2 separate regions of the Homo sapiens genome follow, and region 1 is linked to region 2. The links are contacts of gene promoters, found by promoter capture Hi-C in human tissues and cell types (Jung and others, 2019). All regions are on one chromosome and are shown on one strand. Each heading gives the region's core, a stretch centred on a gene start or on the middle of the fragment in contact. The rest is flanking DNA. Distances are from core to core; before and after follow the strand shown. Region 1 has its middle 10 kb from the start of TOM1L1. Region 2 holds the start of KIF2B (kinesin family member 2B).

Region 1 (4,728 bases), core at 519-3,018, 1.1 Mb before region 2:
TTCAGTGACTGCAACACCGCCTTGTATGTTCCATAGTTCATTATATCTAAAACTCTTTCTGTGATAAGATGCACTATTTTTTGGCACAACAAAAAGGAAAAAAAAGCTTCCAGTTAAACTATGAGATACTACTTTTTTATTAGTTATAATTTTTATTTTGTGTTTATTTAAATAACATTTTGAGAATCATTGGACATGACGTTTTGCATATATGACTCTTTTACAAATGTGAAAAGGAAAATGTAAGCAAAATAAATTAACAAAGATGGCCGGGCCTGGTGGTTCACGTCTGTAATCCCATACTTTGGGGGGCCTAGGCAGGTGGATCACCTTAGGTCGCAAGTTCGAGATCAGCCTGGCCAACATGGTGAAACCATGTCTCTACCAAAAATATAAAAATTAGCCGGGCATGGTGGTGGGCGACTGTAATCCCATCTACTTGGGAGGCTGAGGCAGGAGAATCACTTGAACCTGGGAGAGAGGTTGCAATGAGCTGAGATTGTGCCAAGATACTCCAGCCTGGGCGACAAGAGCAAAACTCCATCTCATAATTAATTAATTAATTAACAAAGATACTATTTCTTCTTCCCATACAGAATCCAGCTCTCCAAACTCACTCCTTGACTCAGAGACATCAATGTGTTTTTCCACACCCTGTCATCTTTTATGCCACTATCAGCACTGGTGACACTGCATTTTTTTAGAGAGTGCTGCTATTGTCTCCCAATACTTTATTATAAGCTGTTGACACTCAGTTTAAATTTTGATAGTGGTGCTTTTTTGATCTTACTAGAAAGTATCAATGAAAGCTTTTCCAGACAACAAACAGGACTTGTTTTTCTTCCCCAAATTGTCCTTAAATAGATTTGGGACTGAAATATCAAGGGTGTCAGTGTCCCATAAGCCATCAGAAATGACAAGCAGATCGCACATACCCACGCAATGACAACTATGTATGCATTTCTGCTGTTGCCTGGCTGACAGAGATTATAACATACCACAGGTTGTGAGGTGCATTAGAGATGTTTTTATTTTTATTTTTATTTTGGAGACAGAGTTTTCCTTTGTCGCCCAGGCTGGAGTGCAGTGGCGCCATCTTGGCTCATTGCCACCTCCGCCTTCCAGGTTCAAGCAATTCTCCTGCCTCAGCCTCCCAAATAACGGGTATTACAGGTGCCCACCACAACGCCTGGCTAATTTTTTTTTTTTTTGCACTTTTAATAGAGACGGGGTTTCACTGTGTTGGCCAGGCTGGTCTCTAACTCCTGACCTCAGGTGATCTGCCCAACTCGGCCTCCCAAAGTGCTGGGATTACAGGCGTGAGCCACCACACCTGGCTGCATTAAAGATGTTAAAAATATGGAGGAAAAAATTACATCTTACAGTAGTTGAGATTCTCTAGTATATTCTTTGCAGATATTTACTAAATGAATTAATATATAAACAGAACCAGTGTTACTGCTGTGTAAGCCAACTAAAGTCTAAAATAAATTACCTAAGACAGAAATCCCATGCATTAAGCAATTCTTTGTTTCATTTTTTATTATTGGCTTATCAAGTTTGGGCAATTATTTCATCTACTTAAATTCTAGAATCAGTAATGAATTCTTGTTGATTATAATTCAATCTAGAGCAAGTTTTAAAATTTGGAATATACTTTTTCACTTCTATTTATCATTCATTGTTTCTTAGAAGCTGACTGCAGCATACTTTAAATTATCTGCTTTAAAAAGATAAGTATTACACAGGTTTTTCAATGGGGTGCCCTGGATTTCTTGTGTTTGAAAAATAGAAAACATTTTATACAGGTAGTTTTTTTAACCATGAGAGGGCAGCCTTGTTTAACTTATCGAATTCTCCCAAAGGCCTAGCTGGGCAGCCACATTCTACAGAATGATTCATTGGAGGGGGAGGAGGGCTCCAGGAACCCCAGCCAGCTGTTTTCAGGGTGTTTTATTTGCTGAAGGCTAGTTGCTCTGCTGGGAAGCACATTGATGCTGCTCACTGTTTTTACTCCCTGAGGGTCTTACATTGGCAGTGAAACCTGGTATTACTTATTTAGCAGGCAGATGGGGGGTCCAGGGAAATGAGTTGCTTGGGAAGGTTGACATGTATCAGAAATTAGGTGGCTGCAGGAGGGGATGCTTTCACAAAGGCCATGTCTGGGATTTGAATCTCTGATAACACATACATACCTATAGTTATGCAAACTTTGTGTGTGTGTGTGTGTGTGTTTGTGTGTGAGGTTTATTTATTTATTTATTTGAGACGGAGTCTTGTTCTGTCACCCAGGCTGAAGTGCAGTGGCATAGTCTTGGCTCACTACAACCTCTGCCTCTGGGTTCTAGAGATTCTCCTGCCTCAGCCTCCCAAGTAGCTGGGATTACAGGCATACACCACCACACCCAGCTAATTTTTTTTTTTTTGTACTTTTAGTAGAGACAGGGTTTCACCATGTTTGCCAGGCTGCTCTCAAACTCCTGACCTCCAGTGATCCGCCCACCTGGGCCTCCCAAAGTGTTGGGATTACAGGCATGAGCCACCACACCTGGCCCCAACTTTGAACTATTGTTGGAGACCGTTTGGAGAGGCAAAACCATTAAGAAAGGGGAGAGGTTGAAGGTGGGTCTAACGAGGATGGATGTCACGATCAATCAGCTTAAATCATCAAGGAGATGAAAGGGGATAGTGACTTATATTTTACATGCTTATTAGCTCATTTATTCCTTCCTTCCTTTATCACACATTATTGAATTTTATACAGAGGTACAACATGGACTTCTAAGCCAGTGAGGGAAACTTCCTAGTAAGCAGATCATTGCAGTTCAGTCTAAGTGTTAAACAAAAATATGGACACAGTATCATGGGAGTACAAACCAGGAACTAACTTTGCATGGAGGATTGAGTCCTGGATTAAAGATCTGGGCAGCATAGGGTTAGACCCAGGCCTGTTAGTGTAGGCCTGAGAACAAATAATGTGATGACCAAATAGTGTAATGACCAATGCAACGTAGGGGAAGAGAGCTCTGGTCAGTCTGAAACTCACGTATTCTGTGCCTCACTCTTTTATAGAGACAACTTTTACTTTTCAGTGCTAGCCCATCTCTGTAGTGGTGAGAGCAGTTACAAAGGTGTCCTAGTGTCTTTTACAGTTATAAGTCCTTCTATGTTAGCTTTACCAACTGAGCAATGAGAACATATGACAGCATGCACTCATTCATTCCACAAACACATAATGAAGTCCCCAAATGCGCCAGTCACGATGCTAGGAATTAGTGTATATGAACAAGCTAAAATCCAATCTCTGCATCCCAAGTGCTCAGTGCTCACAATCAAGTAAGGAAGAAATTATAAACCAGTGGACAAAGTTAATTCTTCATGCAGATGGGCAGAAAATTTACTTTTCCTCAAGTCCTTGAGCCTAGTAGTCACACAATGTTTCCTCATTAAGCTTCTTAATTATAAAAAGATCAGGATGAGCTTCAAAAGTAGTAGGGATGAAAGTGGTAGAAATCATAGTATTTTCTATTAGTCTTAGCCCCAAGTTATAAAGTGAATGTCCTACCAACCATGTTCCTTACAAAAACATAGGAACAACAATAGCATTGGTTGCATTCCAGGGCTAAATAGGAATGCAAAACAGGTCATGTACAGTTTTGATATTGCTAAATCAGGGGTTTGCATCGTGATTAGAGTTGCATTCTGATTCATGTTAAAAAAAAAGTTATTAAAGATAGTATAGAATCAGTTTCACTTTTAAATGAATTAATTTATATCTTCATTTAAAATCATATATAAGTATATACTTGTATATACTTTTCATGTAAAATCATACATATATAAGTATATACTTGTATGTGTACATGTTTATTTAGTGTATGGCGTGTATATGGACCAAAGAAGACCAACCTGCAGCTTCCCTGAGATCTTTGGCCTCAGAATATCTGCTATACTCCTGAGCCCTTCCTAAGAAAACCCATTTACAGTTCCTTTCCGGTGCACTTTCTTACACTGAACGCTTATCCGTATTCTCAATCAGGAATCAGCAAATATTGTCTGTAAGAGGCCAGGTAGTAAATATTTTAAGCTCTGCTGGCATCTAGTCAACTCTGTCTGCCATTGTAGCACAAAAGCAGTCATGGACGATATATAAACTAATGAATGTACAAACATAGATGGCAGGTCAGGTTTGCCCTGCAGGTCATACTTGGAAAATCCCTGTGCTGAATCATTCGACCCCAGCATTTTGGCTGATTCGATTAGGAGGGGGCATCCAAAGTAAGGGTGACAAATCTGTTAGCCAGTCCCAATATGTTGGCCTGGCAGGGACCTTGTATGAGATCTTTGTAATAACTGGTGTCTCTAGATAGGCAGACAGATGGACAGACAGAGCAATTGTTAGTGGGATCAGCTGCATCAGGAGCCAAGAGTAATCAGAAGCTATCAGTAAAGTAAAATGAAAATATTTTAAAAAGATAACCAACTAGAGGGTGGGGTAGTTAGTTAATAGGATCGAGACTAGAGAATTGGAGAAAATTCACATTGGTGGGGGTTGTGGGTCTTGGGAATTGTGTGTCCTAAAATAATCTTACCATGATTAATCTGCATTCCACCTTCAGTCTAGCCATCGCTGGGTTCCTGGAGGAGTTATGTTTTTCCTATTTCCACATGTAGCCTCACAGCTGATTTTCCATTGCTAGAGGTAACCTCGATGAATATCTATTTCTG
Region 2 (4,681 bases), core at 228-2,727:
GTATCTGCTCCTCTTTCATTCCCAGCTAAATCAACGAGGGAAAACTTGCCATGCATTATCCGTCCTGACTTCAGGATGATCTGGAACACTGCATGGCTCCTGGATGAGTGAGCGTTGACAGGTGTTTGCCTGGAAGTCCGACAGCTATTCCCTATTTCCACCAGGTTCAGCACTTCCTCCACACAACACACCTCTTTCTCCTGCAGCCCGACCACTTGGATTTGCTGATTGCCATCCTCAAGGACTTGCAGCTTCTTCTTCCAGTTCAACAAATCATACACCTTGCCCCCATAAATCTCAAAAAATGTCCCATAGACTTTGAGGTCCAGCTTCTCATATGTGGAGTTTCTGAGCAGGAGAAAGACATCCTGTGCCACCAGAGCATAAATGCCCTTAGAACAATCTTGGGCCGTTCCTGAAAAGTCTCCACCCATGGTGTACGTCTTCCCACTTCCCGTCTGCCCATAGGCAAAGCAGGTGGCCATGCCCTTGCGGAAGATGGACTCCACCAGTGGCTGGGCGGTGAACTGGTACACCAACTCGTTGGAGGCTTTGTCATCGAAGGCATGGTCGAAGCAGAAGGTCTGGTTCTGCAGGTAGCGAGTGAGGTCCACCTTTTGCTTGGACTCATGCACCATAACCACATTGTCCGAGGGGACGGTGATGATATCCAGGTCCTTTAAGGTTGTCTCTCGCTGGTTGAGAGGCCGCTTCCTCACGCAGACGCAGATGCGATGTTCTTGCGGGGGCTCCAGGACTGAGATCTTGCTGCTGTCCAGGTGCCTGCGATACTCTTCGATCATGTGCATGATTTCGTAGTTGGGGTTTCTGGTATTGACATCGAGGGCGCGTCTAGCTCGGATCTCCTGCTGCAGCCGCCTGCGCTTTTCCCGCTGCTCCTGCAGTTTCTGGATTTCCCAGAGGCAGGGAGACTTTTTCTGCTTCATCAGACAAGGTTTGCTGGGGACCCTCACATCCAGGCTGTCCCCTGAGGCTGTTTGGTTTTTCTGGGGGATCATCGCAACCCATTTCGTGGCGGTACGCTGGTCCCTGATGGCCGAAGAGGGCGCCAGAGCCAAGGGGGATAAGGGCGGGGGCGGCATGGGGTGTTCAGCAGAGTCCAGAGCTGGATTCAGCAGGAGTATGGTCTCCAGGTCAATCTTCTTGCCTTTTTTGACTGCTTTCTCCACCCACTCTACCGTGACCCAATAGTTTTCTCTGTTGATCTCCGTGACCACAGCGAGGTGGATCCGCTTGTCACTGCGCTGGATCGCCACGTAGATGCCCTCTTGGATGTCTCCGAAATGTGGCTTCAAGGGTTTCAGGGGCGAGAGACATGGGGATTCAGGGAGGCAGAACTGGCTGGCCATGGTGAGTGATGGAGGTATCAGGGAGCGCTCCAGGGCCCTTGGGGTTGGAGCAGCAGGACCCAAGCCAGCCTGAAGCGCCCGGAGCACTGAGCAGGGTTGCAGTCTGTGCCTGCCTTTGTGAGCCTAGCGCGCCGGGGCCCGGACTGGGGCCACTACGTCACAAAGGGATGAGATGAGGCGGCAGAACCTAGGGCTTAGGAGTGAATGGTACGGGAGCACAAAGGGATGGAGAGATTGTTCTCTGCCAGTGAGGGTGAAGGGGTTGGAGGAGGATGTGGCGTGCTCTCCGGATCATGGCGAGAAAGAACAGGTAACAGAGAAGCAACGGGAACCATGGCGTTGAAATTTAATTTATATGTCCCGTGTACATTTATGCCTAAGCATAAAAGGAGGCCTTGGCTGGCAGTCTCAAAGCTCAGTGCTTTAATTTGAGAATTGCTATGAAGTTTCCTTAAACTTTAACTCTCCAGTGATCAGTGGGAATAGATGAAGGTAGAGCTATTTGCAAATCTCAGGACTCGATATTCAACAGGATCCCAGAAAGGCTCCTCAAACCCGCCATCTTTGTTTTTTCACCTCCTTCAAAACGTGTAACTTGTTTAAGAGTCACAACTTAAAGTTATTACAGTTTAATCGGCTTTCTCATTACAAAATCAAAATGAGTAGAATGTAGCAGGTCGTTGTGGTAATTTGCTAATATGAAACTACCTTTCGTACAGCACCTGGGTTTGCAAACACAACATGTGTATCACATTCCAAGTGGCTCTGACAGCTATAAAGTGAGTTTTGTTGTGCTGTGGTCACCACCATTTTTGAGATTAGTTCAGTAATTACCTTTCCAAACTCCTTCAGTAATTACACTTCTGGCCTCATTATCCATAATTGGGAGAGAAAGAAAAGGCATTGTGTGGAAAGAGATAATTAATCTTATACTCCCCCCACCCCTGCAGTACTTGTGTGTGTCCTTTAGAAGTTGTTAAGCAAGGCTGGAAGGCAGCTAAGACCATCGGATGCAAAAATATATTTTGCCAAGATTGCAATATTTTCATGCATAAGAATTAGCTTATAAAATAAATGACATTGACTTTTAGACAGGCCAAGCTCAGAGTAAGGGTGATGCCTTACGTTCAGCTCACTAGCAACACCCGTGCATGTTGTCTTTTGGACTGTTGAATTTTATCATAATTATAGCTCCAAAGTAACATGAAGTAGCAAGTTACAACCTTCCCTAGGAATAAGGGCCTCTATAGAAATAAATTCTACTATAAACTAACTTTTCTGTTCAGTCAGTCTAGTAAAGCTTAGATTTTGAAAAGAAGGTGGAAGGAGGATACTGGATAAATTAGATAAGTAAGCAGTGCTCATTTCAAGAGGAGGTTGTATGCAGGTGGAGGGAGAGGAGAAAGGGCTTTAGGCAATTGTCTTCTAAAAAATATCATGTTTTATTTCCCCAAATTATCAATACTTAAAGTTGTGCTTTAAATCAGTTGTTCTTTCTTGGTTTCAAGGCCATGATGTAGATATTCTTAATACACTGTATTTGTCATTAGCACTCTGTCATTCAAGTTGGAGTACAGTGGCCTGATCATAGCTCACTGCCACCTCATACTCCTAGGTTAAAGCCATCCTACCATCTCAGCTTCCTGAGTAGCTGGAATTACAGGCATGTGTCAGGATGCTTTGCTATTTTCTTTCTTTGTTTCTTTCTTTTTTTTTTTTTTCTTTTTTTTTTTTTTGCTAGGGATGAGGTCTCGCTGTGTTGCACAGAGACTGGTCTCAAACTCCTGACCTCAAGGGAGTCTCCCTTCTCACCCTCCCAAAGTGATAGAAATATAGGCTTGAGCCACTGAGCCCACATAATAGTTTGTTTTGCTTTGTTTTTTTAACCGTTACCTTTGAAAAAGCTGGGTCTCTCTCAAAATTATGAAAACTCTAGACCCTCCAGGCTAGCCATAGGGTTTTCATCTTAGCTAGTAATGTTTTAGACAGACAATGGATGAGCAGATCCATGATAATAGTGCCAAAATCAGAGAGAAAAGTTTCCTTTTACTCCCTCTTTCTCTCCAACATGTTCATACAGGTTTTCATAGCAATTTCAGGACTTTTTTTCAGTTCTTTTCTCTTTTATATAGTTTCCCTAGTATATTGCATTTGTTCCTACAGTTTAATTTTATATAAAGCTGGCTAGATAGATTGTTGATAACCAGAATTATGAGTCCTAAACTTGTAGTCACCTGCAGGAACTAAAAAGTTAACAAATCCAAAACTGATTCTGTTATTTTCTTACTGAAAATGGCAGGTCTTTGTTATTTTTAATTGCTTTTAGTAACTTCAACATTTACTCATCTTTAAAATCCTGACACAGATCTTTGTGTTCTTCCCCTTTCAGCCCATCCTAACTTAGGTAGTCCTTTCCCAGTCTCTAGAAGTCTTCCATAACCATGATATCATTTAATCTCCCAACCAATTATGAGCTTGTTTTCTTTTTTCTTTTTTTTTTTTTTTTTGCAACCTCATCCAGTCAGGGACTTAGTCTATTTCTCACACTGCTCCTAGAGTTATTTTAACAGGTTCTTCCTTATTAATTCACTGCTTTTAAGCATTTGTTAGCTCCTCATCATCCTAATGATATGGTATAAATTCCATATGAAGACTTAAGGCACATCATCATCTTGCCTGCTTTGTCATCCTCAAGATTTCCCACTATCCATACTTAATCTAAAATTGAGCCATGTGGAAGAAATTGCAGCCCTTCAAACACACCATTTTCTTTCAAATTTCAAATTGCTAGTCCGGTGGTTCTCAATATTAAGATATGTGAAAATCAACTGCAGGGCTTGTTAAAACACAGGCTACTAGGCTCCATGCCAGAGTTGTTGATTCAGTAAGTCTGAAGTGGGGCTGAAAATTCTCATGTTTAACAAGTTCCCAGGCAATGTTGGTGCTGCTGGGTGCAGGGACAACATTTTGAGAATTACTAGTACAGCCCTCTGACAATAATCCTTCCTTGTCTTCATGGTTTTCCTGAGCTCTTCAATACCTACCTCAAACATCACTACCCTGGACAGGTTTCTCTGACCTTCTTGACAATAGCCAGGCAAAATAGCATTAGATAAAGACACCCCTTCTGAAGAAATGGTGTCTATTACTGGTCGAATTTGGCTAGTCAAGGGAACCCAAAGCCTAATTTTTAGTAGTACATTAAAAAAAATTCTCATTGGTGAAAAATAACAGTAACCTGTTTATAGAGAGCTGATTGGGTGCTTTTACAATTCCAATAGTCTGGAACTTCTTTGGAGCAATCCCTTTTT

What was found. The method cuts DNA at HindIII sites, captures the fragments that hold promoters and counts their contacts. A contact is called where the count stands out against the background at its distance.
Region 1: a fragment that was not itself captured here is called in contact with the fragment with the promoter of KIF2B in region 2 in 1 of the 25 tissues and cell types used here (heart right ventricle).

Annotation. Positions count from the first base shown.
Region 1 is chr17:54,888,524-54,893,251 of GRCh38, reverse strand. No RefSeq gene overlaps it. Among named protein-coding and RNA genes, the nearest start is that of TOM1L1, 10 kb to the left of the region's middle. The HindIII fragment of the contact is 6,052 bases long and covers 1-4,728 here.
Region 2 is chr17:53,819,723-53,824,403 of GRCh38, reverse strand. KIF2B (kinesin family member 2B) reads right to left here and starts at 1,477. Exons shown (of 1, transcript NM_032559.5): 1 at 1-1,477. The coding sequence starts at 1,370. LOC124904030 (a long non-coding RNA gene) reads left to right here and starts at 1,478. Exons shown (of 2, transcript XR_007065851.1): 1 at 1,478-1,680. The HindIII fragment of the contact is 8,156 bases long and covers 1-4,594 here.